Linked DNA regions of Homo sapiens: regions 1 and 2 are each linked to region 3. The links are contacts of gene promoters, found by promoter capture Hi-C in blood cells and fetal thymus (Javierre and others, 2016). All regions are on one chromosome and are shown on one strand. The core of a region is centred on a gene start or on the middle of the fragment in contact, and the rest is flanking DNA. Distances in the headings are between cores, read along the strand shown.

The links. The method cuts DNA at HindIII sites, captures the fragments that hold promoters and counts their contacts. A CHiCAGO score of 5 or more calls a contact.
Region 1: a fragment that was not itself captured here is called in contact with the fragment with the promoter of PRR5L in region 3 in 1 of 17 cell types (total CD8 T cells); the score reaches 6.8 in total CD8 T cells.
Region 2: a fragment that was not itself captured here is called in contact with the fragment with the promoter of PRR5L in region 3 in 1 of 17 cell types (fetal thymus); the score reaches 5.9 in fetal thymus.

Annotation. Positions count from the first base shown.
Region 1 is chr11:36,669,612-36,674,223 of GRCh38, reverse strand. LOC107984325 (a long non-coding RNA gene) reads right to left here and starts at 3,335. Exons shown (of 3, transcript XR_001748186.1): 1 at 2,702-3,335; 2 at 2,139-2,226; 3 at 762-1,037. The HindIII fragment of the contact is 1,775 bases long and covers 2,298-4,072 here.
Region 2 is chr11:36,736,320-36,741,190 of GRCh38, reverse strand. The region is part of intron 3 of LOC107984326 (a long non-coding RNA gene); the gene reads right to left. Among named protein-coding and RNA genes, the nearest start is that of RAG2, 140 kb to the right of the region's middle. The HindIII fragment of the contact is 283 bases long and covers 1,460-1,742 here.
Region 3 is chr11:36,294,296-36,298,892 of GRCh38, reverse strand. It overlaps PRR5L (proline rich 5 like), which reads right to left and starts at 2,605. Exons shown (of 9, transcript NM_001160167.2): 1 at 2,455-2,605. The HindIII fragment of the contact is 2,178 bases long and covers 1,052-3,229 here.

The sequences.
Region 1 (4,612 bases), core at 1,936-4,435, 370 kb before region 3:
GCAAATGTTGCTGCCTGATCGTTCCTCTGGAAGCTTCATCTCAGAGGGGCACCCGGCTGTATGAGATGTCAGTCGGCCCCCTACTGGGAGGTGTTTCCCAGTTAGGCTACTCAAGGGTCAGGGACCAACTTGAGGAGGCGGTCTGTCCGTTCTCAGATATCAAACTCCATGCTGGGAGAACCACTACTCTCTTCAAAGCTGTCAGACAGGGACGTTTAAGTCTGCAGAAGTTTCTGCTGCCTTTTGTTCAGCTATGCCCTGCCCGCAGAGGTGGAGTCTACAGAGGCACACCAGGCCTCCTTGAGCTGCAGTGGGCTCCACCCAGTTCAAGCTTCCCAGAGGCTTTGTTTACTTACTCAAGCCTCAGCAATGGTGGATGCCCCTCCCCCCACCTCACTTCCACCTTGCAGTTCGATCTCTGTTAGCTGTGCTTGCAGTGGGGGAGGCTCCATGGACGTGGGACCCTCCAAGCCACGCATGGGATATAATCTCCTGGTGTGCCATCTGCTAAGACCATTGGAAAAGCCCAGTATTAAGGTGGAAGTGTCCCAATTTTCCAGGTACTGTCTGTCATGGCTTCCCTTGGCTAGGAAAGGGAATTCCCCAACCCTTTGCACTTCCCGGGTGAGGCAATGTCCCACCCTGCTTCAGCTCACACTCTGTGGGCTGCACCCACTGTCCGACAAGCCCCAGTGAGATGAACCCAATACCTCAGTTGGAAATGCAGAAATCACCCATTTTCTGTGTCGCTCACGCTGGGAGCTGTAGACTGTAGCTGTTCCTATTCAGCCATCTCGGAACCTCTAAAAATAATTTCTTAATAACTCCTGTATTATTTCCCCCCTCTACAGACATAAACTTAACTGCCGTTAGGGGGTATTGGATGACGATTCTTTCTGGCTACTTCCTGCTAAAAAGGGGCATCTTGTTGGAGGACAGTGGTTGGGCCTCCTCTTGAGGTCAATCTAAGTGTTCTCAGAAGAATGGTGTGTCCATGTGTGGCTCTGTCTGCAGCACCATTTGGGGTTTGATTGCTTCTAGGTGAAAAGAGATAAATTTTACAAGGAGGTTTAAAATATAGGATTAGAATATGAGTATCGAGATTACCACTGTTAATGGAGGGCCTATAGACCATAACTATGACAGTAGAGTTTGATACCTGTTAGTTACACCAATGGATTGTAATACCAGTTTGCCTCCACTAGATGTCGCTGTACATAATCAGAAACATTCATATAAAAGTAACATTCCTTTTAGGAAAAGTGGCATTGGATTGGGTGGCTAGAATAACTTTAGTGTTAACCTTGGCTACATTTTTCCTGCAATTATCAATCCTTTCATGACTTCCACAGAAAATCTCTTTCCTTTATAACCTTTGCATAACCAGGATGTGACATATTACCAAACCCAATAAGAAGTTCTAGCAAACTCAGTGATAGTAAAACTTTCATGCTTCCCTTTTGTTGGCAGCTATTATCCCTACTATAAGGATAATAATTAAGCAAAAAATATTGCAGCAATGGAAACTCTCCGTCCAATATTTCAATTAAAAGGTGCTACCGGCCAGGCGTGGTGGCTCATGCCTGTAATCCCAGCACTTTAGGAGGCCGAGGTGGGCGGATCACCTGAGGTTGGGAGTTCGAGACCAGCCTGACCAACATGGGAAAACCCCGTCTCTACTAAAAATAAAAAAGTAGCCGGGTGTGATGGCGCATGCCTATAATCCCAGCTACCAGGGAGGCTGTGGCAGGAGAGAATCGCTTCAACCCGGGAGATGGAGGTTGCAGTGAGCCGAGATCCCGCCATTGCACTCCAGCCTGGGCAACAAGAGCGAAACTGAGCCTCAAAAAAACAAAACAAAACAAAACAAAAAACAGTGCTACTGTGTATAGCTCTACTACAAATAGTAGAGTGAGTAGAGCAATTCCTGCAAGTGTGGTGTAAGTAGATAATTTCCATCTAAAATTTTACTTGCTAAGATATAGAATTTCCCTTTGGGGATCTATAAAGTTCCTTGGTTCTATTTCCCTAAACAAAGAAACCTCTGAGTTATGGGCACCCTATTCACTCTCATTACCTGGCAGAATTTACAGGATAATTGCCCAGAACTAGCATATTGATCTAGATTTTCACATTACCTATGCCTTTTTGTTTCTTCCAAGCTGCAGGAGATCACCACTTGATTCACAGGAATAAGCAGGGTTAGTCTAAAATGTAGGCAAAAAGCTGAAAAACAATTAATGAGACTATGATTTAATGACAAATGTATGATAAGCTTTGGAGCATAATGATAAGCTTTAGAGCATAGTTTCTCTCTCTAGTCCCCATTTTTGGTAAAAGCAAATTATGATAGTATTGTGTTGTTTGTAGAATAAACTTTAGTTTTATATTTGGCCTGATTATTTGCATAAAGTACAGTAAGAATAATTATTTCTATGTAAGCCTTTTGGATTGGCTTTGATGGCACTCTGTTTCAAAAGGAATCTCAGATAAGACCTCTTAAAGCCCAGCCATGAGTTTTTATCCTGTGAGTCCCAAGATAAACTTGGAGCTCCTGGACCTGTTAGAAAGTGACATTCTTTACTGACCACAGATTAGGAACCCTGTGCGGGGACTGTGTAGACAAGGGATGAGGCCAGTTCTCCCCAAGAGGCTTTTATCGGCACTGGAAGTAAAGATAGACTCTTAAAGGGAAGCATACCCTTTCGGTCAAAGCCTTGGTAAAATAACTAGCTTTTCCAGTTGTGTCCTGTTGAAAAAGAAAAATGGATCTTATTGCACTGATGCAAACAACTATATTTCCATAAGTTAAGAGTACTCACAGGCAGTTTCCAACTTCTAGAGGAACCAGGCAGACAGAAACAAACGTGCTCCAAATTTTGTTTGCAGGAGTATACCTTACTCAATTATTAAAGGCCATAAATAGTTTAAAATAAGTTTTCTTAACTCTGAAAAACAAAACAAGGATCAGCAACATTCCAAGTAAAAGTCAAAAAGGTTGCTTTAACTTTCTGAGTGCAGTCCATTTAGTTAACTCTTGTATTGCTTGACATTCGTGAACATTTCAGTTCTTCATGAGTCCCACACATTCTTTCTCTATTCCAATGTTACAATCTTCAAGGCTATTAAAAACTCACATTTGAGAACACCTGTTCAAGTTTTATAGCTTGATTATAACCTATCTTTTAAGAAGGAACAAAGCAAGACAAAATGGTCTTTGAATGACAAAATTTCCAGGATAGTTACAGTTAAAAACATGACTGACAGGCTGGGCATGGTGGCTTATGCCTGTAATCCCAGCACTTTGGGAGGCCAAGGCAGGCTGATCACGAGGTCAGGAGATCGAGACCATCCTGGCTAACATGGTGAAACCCCGTCTCTACTAAAAATACAAAAAATTAGCCAGGCATGGTGGTGGGTGCCGGTAGTCTCAGCTACTCAGGAGGCTGAGACAGGAGAATGGCATGAACACGGGAAGTGGAGCTTGCAGTGAGCCAAGATCACGATACTGCACTCCAGCCTAGGCAACAGTGTGAGACTCCATCTCAAAAAAAAAAAAAAAAAAAAGACTGACAAAGAAATTTAGTTATCTCCATGGCTTATAACTTTACCCCTAATTACTATTGATAGCATATATTTAGACATTAAAATTTTAGAAATCCCATACAATTTTGGAACATATGTTAGTATTATTCATCAAAATATAACTTAAAGAAGATTGGACATCGTTTTGGCAATTTCATGTGACAAAACATGTCAAATAATCCTGTTCACCTCTTTTCTGAATGTTTCAGGGGCCCTCTGAACCATCCAGAAAGCCAGGCATCAGGAAAGACAATTTTGAAACTTAAAGTTTGATTTTTGGGTGCCTGTTAAATGTTAGAGGTTTAAAACACTTGATGTTATGAAATAGAATTCCAAATTGCCATAAATTATTTATTTTGCCAAAACGATGACTCAAAAAGCAAAAATTTTTATTATCCTTTATTATTACATGAAAATCCTGTTTAAGCAAAATTTTACCCTTGCATTAATTTACTGATATCAATCCCAATTTCTTTAAATGGAAGCTTATAGATGATTCCATCTAATCTTAACCAATTTGACCATGAGGTGAAATCTTTACAAGCCCTTTATAACCTCTTTTACTAACGGGCAGATTAGTGTCTTAAGACACCCTTGTTGTGCTTTTATTTCAATGCTCAATTTATGAAAAGACCATGTAATATGCTTTTGAATTTAGTTAGGTTTACACATTTTTGCAAGATTAATTTTTACAATCTTTCCACAACTTACTTAAACATTTAGCTTTATCTTATTAAATGTAAGATAATCCCTTATTCCTGGGCAAAATTTGGATTTCCATGCTTTCTTATAATCTTTTACTAAAAAACACATTTCACTGTTTTTATATGCCTTGAATGTAAAACTGTTTAATGATCTCAAATACATGTTGCACTCTTAACTCTTAGCAACTTTTATTTTTGGTGAAAAGCCTGGTTAGTAAGTGTTTTTAATTGTTGTTGTGTTTCTTGAGACAGAGTCTTGCTGTCGCCCAGGCTGGAGCGCAGTGGCACGATCTCAACTCACTGCAACCTCCACCTCCTGGGTT
Region 2 (4,871 bases), core at 352-2,851, 440 kb before region 3:
GAAATATGTACAATCCTTATGTATCAACAAAAAAAAATGACAACAACAAAACACGTTAGTCAATAAGCTGACAGCCTGGAGCTCTTTTCAACAGATAGCACTGTATTCAAAAGGACTTCTCCACGACTCCACAAATCTAGTTTCCACAACAATTTCTGAAATTTGATGCCTTTATATATGCAAGTTACATTTTAAAGTTGGCCTATAAATACATAGACAATTTTGACTGAATGGAATTATTTGAACCCTCATTTGTTCAATCAAATAAGCATTTGAATGTTTAGTATCAGCCAGATGAGCTGTTCCTTTGTTCATTCACTCATGTATTTCTCAAATCCTCATTGATTCCTATCAACACTATCAGGTGCCATGCCAGGGAGCTAGAAACACAAAGAAAAGCAAGAAACAGAAATAGATCCCACCCTTTAGGATTCATTGACCTCACAGTTAATTATGAAAGTCAGATATATACATAACCACAAAATAGTGAGATTACATACTATTAAAAATACATAAAATTCTGCATCAGGAGGATAGAGAGGAAGAGAACTGAGGAAGATTTTTGAATGGAGATACTCCTGAGATGGGTGTAGAAAGCTGGGTAGCAGTCACCAGGCAAAGGTGAGGAAGGGCATGGGGAATGAATATTCCTGAAATGGGAACAAGAGCTGCACAGGTGCCTCCTACCTGGTCTCCCTCCTTCCACTCTTACCCCACTACAGTCTGTTCAACAGTCACACAGCTATCAGCATGATCCTTGTGAAATACCAATCAGATTCCATCACTCCCTCATCTCAAACTTGCAATAATTTCCTCTCCCACCTGCAATAAAATCCAAAGTCTTGGTCATGCCTTCAAGGCCTTACGTGATGGGCTCCTTGGTATATTAGAGACCTCCCTTGGTTCCACGTCCTCCCAGCCACACTGGCCTCCTTGATGTTCTTCAAACATTCCAGGCAAGTTCTCATCTCAGGGCCATTGCAAAGTGCCTTCTCTGGCCATCTCAAATAAAATAGAACCCTGCTGTCACTTTCTGCCCCTTTTCTCTGCTTTATCTCCCTGCACAGCACTCAGGACTCGGACAGTACATGGTCTATGTAGCTATTTGCCTGTGCATTGTCTGACTTCTCCACTAGAATGCAAGTGCCATGAGGGCAGGCCTTGATCTGTTTTGTTCACAGCTATAGCACTAGTGCCTAAGACAGTACCTAGCATATGGTGGGCTCCCCCAAAGTATTTTTAGGATGAAGAATTAAATGAGGCTGGAAAATATGCATATTTCAAGTGCTGGCAAGTATCCAACATGGCTACAACATGGGAGTGAGGGGATAGGGGGCCAAGGTAAGAGCCACTGGAAATGAGGTTGGATGGGTGCTCAGTGACCAAGTAATAAAGGGTGCTGTACTCCTGGCTAAGAGTTTGGGCTACATTCTGAGGACAACGGGGAGCCAGTGAAGCTTGTAAGGAAGGGCATGGTACATGCAGGTCTGCTTATTTAAAAGAGAAATCAGCTTGCCATGCAGTAGATAAATCTGAGAAGAGCTTCAGGCAAAAAGGTCTGTTGGGATACTTTCGCAGTCACCTGTTTCTTCAGCTTTAAAATGCAGATAATAACACAATCTTAGTCACAGGCTGCAGTGATGACTAAGGGGGTTGATGTACATAAAGTACGTAGCACAGGACCTGGCACATAGGATGCTATCAATAAATATTATCTATTACCACCAACATTTAGGGAAGCTTGAAGGATGATATCTGTGCTTCTGCTCAGATGACTGTGTGGAAGGTGCTGCTGCCTTTGATCTCAATATAAACTATAGAAATAAGAACTCAATTGTGGGAACACAGAATGAATTCTATTTTGGGCAAGTGCAGTTTGAAATAGCTGTGGGATATCCAGGTGAGATCTGTGGTATGCAGTCTGATATAAGGGTCTAAAGCTCAAAAGGGAAGTTTAAACCAAAGCTCAAGATTCAGAGGAATCCCTTCCTTTACAAGCAATTGTCCTGGTCCCTTGTGAGCAAACTCTGAATCCAAAGTACTCAAAAGTAAACTCACTAGAGTAAAAAGCCCCAAGAAGAAACCATCATATAGAGCTGAAAATACCACTGCAAGAATTGACTATAATTCTGAGCCCCTCAGGACCCCTAGCAATGTTCATATAGTCCTTGTTTGCATCCTCTTTGAGCACACAGAAAAGAGCTTCATATGCTTATCACATTTACCACATCCTTCTACAAGTCCTCCAATTTCCTATTTTCCAATGTGCCCCTAAAAGAAAAGGCTAAATAAGCTCCAGAAGTCTGTACATTATAACTGACAGACCTCTTAGCTCTGAAGGCATTTTTTTCTGAGCTCAATGAATTTCAAAACAGTGTTCCACTTCTACCCCTGCTTCAAGTGTCTGAGAATACACGTGTGAAGTATAATGTCAAGTCCTTGGGGATGTGGCTCCCCAGAGTTATCTGGGGCTAGAGATATAAGAAGAATAGGAAGTACAGAAATGGAGCTGGCTCTGCAGCTAGTACAGCAAAAATGGCTTGAGGTTTACTTACAAACAATCGACATTGGTGCCTTTGAAAGGGAAGTGGAACTAGCTTTGATAGACATGCATTCTTTCACTTATTCATTCAACAAACAGCTATTGAGGATGTAATATACCTGCCAGGTACTGTGCCAATACAGAGGAAGTAACAGTCAACAAGAAAGATTTGATTCCTCATGAAGCTTCGTGGCTTCAAGGGTTTCCTGTTTGTCAGAACCTTAAGGATATCTAAAATGTAAAGCAAACCTTCTTAATTTTCATTCATTCATTTACTCATTGAACACATATTTATCAATGGTGCTGTGCTGGCCTCTGGAAGTCACAATGTTCACTAAGACAAGGCAGTTACAATTCAGTTTAAATGTCATGGGAAGGCAAGTACTGTGTGCCAGTGGAGGCTGTAGGAAGGGCCCTGTGATAGCATAACTTGTCCACAAATTATCTGATACTCCTCTCCATTGAGGGGAAATGTCTATGTCCCCTCCCCTTGAATCTAGGCTGGTTCTGACACTGTGCTTACCAGTAAAATATGACGGAAGTGATGCTTCACCCAGACTGTAAAGAAGTAGCAATATTCTTTCTTAGAATACTTGTTCTAGGGGAAGCTAGCTCCCATGTGAATAGATACATCCTGAGAGTACCATGTTGTGAGGAACCTCAAGCTAGCTTAGAAAAGGATATGGGGAAAGAGAGGCCAAGCAAGCTTTAGCTATTCCAGTCATTCCAGCCAGGTGCCAACATCTGAGTAAAACAGCTATCTTGGATATTTTATGTTGGATTGAAAGTCCTCCATGGATAGCATTTAGTCTGAGACCCAAAGGATGAGAATGATTTTGATATACAAGGACCAAGTGGAGGATTATTCCAGGCAGCGGAGTGGGATTATACAAAGATCCAGAGTTGGCGAAGCTCCTGGAGTGTTCAAGGAGCTGAGAGTAGGTTTTAAAATGGTGGTATAGAGGTGAGCTGGCTACATTATCATCAACCCCCACAGAAAACCAAAAATATATATACAGTACCAAAGTTTTTGCCAGCAACAACCCAGGACTCAAATGTGAAGATGAGATAGATCTTGAGGTCATGGAGAAGTGAAAAACCTCTGAGCAAAGGATGGGAGAATTTACCTACCATCTAGGCTCTGAGGATGCCCTTCCCCACAACCCACATTCTTCCCGGCAACAAGTGTGCAGGTAATTTTACCCAATTCACAGTTCCTACACTGGAAAAAGTGAGATTGAGGTGATCATCCAGCTTTCCCACTATCTTAGGTTGCCTGGCAGGAGACCTGTCCTTGCCTTAACCCATGGGAAGTGATTGCCTGAAGGAAGAAATATCCCTAAGGACAGGCAGAGACAAAGGGAGGAGGAGGGACTAGCATCCTGAGCCCTGGAAAGTCTGCTCTGTAACTTGGCCAAAGGAGATGCCAAATCAGGTAGCTGTTAAGCAGCAGTACCCTGTAGGAGGTACATTTCATAGGTCCATTGGGCATGAACCCCTAGCCAGCCTTCCCACACTGCTGGGATAATTCCTTTGAAATTTAACCCCATCCAGGACAGGCAGTGCTCCACTCATTAACTAGAGTCAAAGCAAACCTGGGCTTAAGGCACAAGGCTTAGAACCAAAAAGGGAGCAGTGATCTAACAGTATTTGCTGAGCAAATATATCCAAAGAAACAAAACAAACCAGAGAAAACTAGAATAAATAATTAATCCTTTATTGCAAAGACATTGTCATACATCCACAAGAAACAAAGCAAACTGGGAACTATGACCTCCCCTAAAAGGACAAAACAAAAGTTCAGTCACTGACCCTAACAAGACAGTGATTCGTGAGCTCTCTGATCAAGAATTCATAATAGCAGTCTTGAGGAAACTTGGTGATCTCCAAGATAACACAGAAAAGCAATTCAGAAATGTATTGAGAAAATTTAACAAAGAGATTGAAATTTTTAAAAAATCAAATGGAAATCTTGGAACTGAGAAATACGTTTTCTGAACTGAAAAACTCATTGGAAGCTCCTAACAGCAGAATGGACAAAGCAGAGGGAAAAAAAATCAGTGAGCTTGAAGACCGGCTATTTGAAAATACACAGAGGAGACAAAAGAAGAAATAATGAAAAGGGATGAAGGCCTCCCACAAAAAATAGAAAATTACCTGAAAAGACCAAATCTAAGAATTATTGGTGTTCAAAAGAAAGCTGAGCAAGAGCAATGGGTAGAAAGCTTATTCAAAGAATAATAGAAAAGTTTCCAAAACTTGAAAAAGATATAAATATCCGAGTATAAGAAGGTCGGAAAACATGAAACAGATTGAACCCAAATAAGAC
Region 3 (4,597 bases), core at 1,356-3,855:
GCCAAGAGACACCAGGAATGCACACACAGAGGAAAGACCATGTGAGAACTCAGTGAGAAGGTGGCCATCCACAAGCCAAGGACAGAGACCTCAGGAGAAAACAAACCTTCCAACACCTTGATCTTGGACTTTTAACCTCCAGAACTGGGAGAAAATTAAGTTCTGTTGTTTAAGCCCGGGGCCCCCAACTCCCGGGCCATGGACCAGTACTGGTCTGTGGTCTGTTAGGAACCAGGCCACACAGCAGGGACAGAGAGAGCACGAAGCTTCATCCATATTTACAGCTGCTCCCAATCATTCACATTACCACCTGAGCTCCACCTCCTGTCAGATCAGCAGCAGCATTAGATTCTCATAGGAGCACAAACCCTATTGTGAACTGCGCATGTGAGGGGTCTAGTTTGCATGCTCCTTATGAGAATCTAATGCCTGATGATCTGTCACTGGTTCCCATCACCCCCATATGGGACTGTCTAATTGGAGGAAAACAAGTTTAGGGCTCCCACTGATTCTACACTGTGGTGAATTGTGTAATTATTTCATTATATATTACAATGTAATAATAATATAAATAAGGTTCTCAATAAATGTAATGCACTTGAATCATCCTGAAACCATCCCTACCCTGGTCTGTGGAAAAAAGTGTCATCTACAAAACTGGTCTCTGGTACCAAAAAAATTGGGGACTGCTGGTTTAAGCCCCTCAGTCTGTGATATTTTGTCATGGCAGTCCCAGCAAACTAATACGGCACTGCTTAGATGCCAGGGAACTAAGGAAGGAGTCTTATTAGGCAACCAGCTTCAAGGGACCAGCAACTCAGAGATCCCCAAAGATGAGAAATAATGGTGCTCTCTGAAGTATCCACAAGATTGTGCCTAGAGAGAAAGAACTAGGTTTACACACCCACCAGAACCTGCCACTGAAATGCCAGCTTGCCACAGCATTAACCAAGTACGGACTTCCAGCTCCTTTCCTGCCTCTTCTCTTTTCCCCTTCCCCCTGCCAGGAGTCAGAATCATCAGTAAGCCAGAGGAGAGAAGGATGGAAGCTTAACGTGGGAAATGAGAAGCCAACCACAGACCCCCTTTCCAAGCTGCAGGCCCCACTGGAGGAGGGAGAAAAGTCTCCACTGGGAACCAAATTCAAAGATCTGGCTGATTCCCTGGGACTGGACATCCCAATTGCTGAATGAGGCTGTGCTGGAACTAAAAGCGACTTAAGAACTTTTGATTCCTGAAGGGGGCCCATAAGAGTTGTGGACCTACCTTAATTTTCATCCCAGGGCAAGGGAAGAGGGAGGACCTGCTGAAAAAAATTAGGGACAATGATAGGCAAAAATAAAGTTTGCTTCCATAATATACCATGAGTCCTGTGTATTTGACGTATGTTCTCTTACATATGAGGCAACTTAGCCTGGTCTCTGGCCAAAAAAGAGATACCACTCATTGAGCAATTCTTACCCTTTCAAATTCCTTCACTGTCGTCATTGAGCAATTCCATCTTCTTCAAGCAAGACAAAAGCTGATGCCAATAGAAAAATCATTTAAAATAAACAAACGAAAAAATTCCTTAAGCTGTCAACTTGGGTGCAGATGTTCTATGAAGCCAGAAACTGAATGTCACCCTCTATACACCATGACCTAGAGAAGCAGAATAACTCCAGACCAGCAGGGCTGGGCGGGTCTAAGATTCCCATACTACTTAAGAGAAAACTGAATTCAAATCCAGGCTCTGCCATTTAACAACTGTGTGACCCCGGGTGAATGACTTAAATTATCCGTACTTCAATTTCCTCATCCATAAAATAGAGATCATAAAGTATCTATCTGATGAAATAGCTGCAAAACAGTTAGAATGCTGCCTGGCACAGGGCAAAGGACTCACAATACACATAGCTATCATCATATATCATTGCCTCTCAAAGTGAAATATTGTGATGACCTTGGTTTATTAGCAGGATGTTGTAAAAAAAAATGCTTTACAAGGGGCATGATGACGAAAAGCGCAGATTCTAGAACCCGACTCCCTGGGTTTGAAAGAAGCAAGAATCTGAGGCATGTTGTATAAGGGTTTGCTATCATTACTATTCATTCAATGAGAGACATACAGTAATAGGTATACATATGCAATACATAGAGAAAGAGCTTAGTACTAGCAGCTATTATTAAGGCAACAGCCACCTCAGTAAATCTACATGGGCCATGAAGACCCTGGTCACCCAGAGATATCAGAGGCACTGAACAGGGCCAGACAGACAGAGGGTATTTTTCTAACTGGGAGGCTGCTGAACTTGACCTCTGTTGCTTTTCATTATTTATTTAACAGCAGATGGTGGCTTTCAAGAAAATCGGATGTCTTGAAGCCAGAAACCCATCCTCCTTGGGCTGGATACTCAGCCATCCCCTGCAACCCCACCCCCTAGCCCCAAGCTCTCATTGTCTCTCTTGTGTTACCTGGTCTGGTTTCTTCTTCCAGGGCAGGTCCCACCTTGCTGGGGAGAGGTGAATGACCATGGCCTTCCAGCCTCCCGAGAAGGGGATGTTCCAACGGGCGCAGAGATCTCTGGGCCTGGCTTGCCACTCACTGACCTGGGGCCTGAAGACTGACAGAGAAGCAGGCAGAAAATATAAAAAGCTGATACCCCCTGCAGGAAATCATTGTTTAGCCCATTCCAGACTAAAAAAACAAGTGCAACATTGGAGAAAGGAGGGTAAAGTGTCATTCGGGGCCATTGTTACAGCGGCTGCTCTGTGTGGTGGGGAAACAAAGCAGGCCTGTGTATGTGAGGACAATGCTGTTGTGTTACTAGCTGCTTCTGTGTTACTCCTGGGGACAGGAGGATGAGAAACGAGGCCACAGTGTCTTCCCTGGTGGACTTCACTCATCATAGTAGCCAGGCCAATCAGAGCTGGGAGAGGAATTTTGGACATTTAGCCCATGGCATTATGTAATAAGGGTCAGGGGACGTGCCTTCAGGTGTGACCACCTGCCTCTTTGTTAGTCTTCTATACATGAGAGATCACAAATGTCCCTCTCCTTTTCTCTTACTTGCTTTCAGAAACTTACCCCAAGTTAGAGCTGAAAAGAATGAGACATATCATTTCTCTAAACACAAATGTCATCCACTTCAATGCCTAACTTTTGTGATGGGACATCTGGCTGGGACTAAACCTCAGCCATGCAGCACGTTAGCAGCAGTTGGCAAGACTAGATGAATATTATAAAGCTTGCACCCACTGAACCCCCATAATGAACCAGACACTAGGTCATGAGCAACCTTGCAAAATGACCTCATTCGCTCCTGACTTCAAATTCTGACTCTGCAACTATTACCCATGGACTGTGAGCAAGTGTTTTCTCTGGGTGTTAGTTTTCCCATCTGTAAACCGGGATTATGATTGGGTTCCTAGGAGGATTAAATGAATTAATATATGCAAAACTCTTAGAACAGTGGCTGGCCCATAAAAGTGATCAAGAACCACAAATCACAAATTAGATGCCCACATTACACCTGAAACTTGCTTGTACTCATGAGGAGATGGTATGGGGATGGCTGGAAAGCCAGGATCCCAAGTGTCTGTATTTAGCCCTGTTACCTACTATGGCCTAAGTTCACCCTGTTAGGTCCCTGAAGGAATTGGGCACTAATAAATATTCTCAAGTATGAGACAGGTGACAAATGTGTGGAGAGGGCCCACTGTGATGCAACAGTGTGTGGCGGGAACTGTGGGGATTTGAAAGCTCACACCAGTCTTCAGAGGGCAGCCAGGGCTCAGCCTCAGCCAAATACTGCAATGCAGAAAGGTGGAAACAGCATGGTTGGGCCTGCACATTTTTAAAGAAAAGCCAGAAGGCTGGATTTTTTATGTCGAGTTTTCCAATTTTGAAACACTGTGGACCAAACACAACATTGTTAATGCAATGTGAGCCCTAGATCATGCAGTTTGTGATGCCTGATCTGGAAATTTCCAGATTTCCAGCATTTCCAAGCCAGTGCAACCCTGCTGACACTCAGAGCTTTTGTCCCCAACTTGCGCTACGGTCTGAGTGTATGCGTCCCCCACAAATTCATATGCTGAAATCTTCACCCCCAGGTGATGGTATTTGGAGGTGGGACCTATGGGGGGTGATTAGGTCATGAGTGTGGAGCCCTCATGAATGGGATTAGTGCCCTTATAAAGAGGCCCAAGAGAGCTCCCTTGCCCACAGCCACCATTTGAGGACACAGTGAGAAGACACCATCTGTGAACCAGGAAACCGTCCTCATCAAACATAGAATCTGCCAATGCCTTGGTCTTGGACTTCCCAGCCTCCAGAACTATGAGCAACACATTTCTGTTGTTGATAAAGCCACCCAGTTTATGGTATTTTGTTATATTAGCCCATATGGACTAAGACGACTGGTGAGCTGATCAGGCCACGTCAAAGCCACAAAGGGGGCATAAAGTCAAAAAGATTGATCAGCCCTTTCCCCCTGCAACCCACCCTCATCTCTGGACTGAGACAAAGGTGAGGAAAAGGGAAACTAGGGGAATAACAGGAGGGTGGCAAGGGCTCTCCTTAAAGGACTGCAGGACCCTGGGCCTAATCCACCTC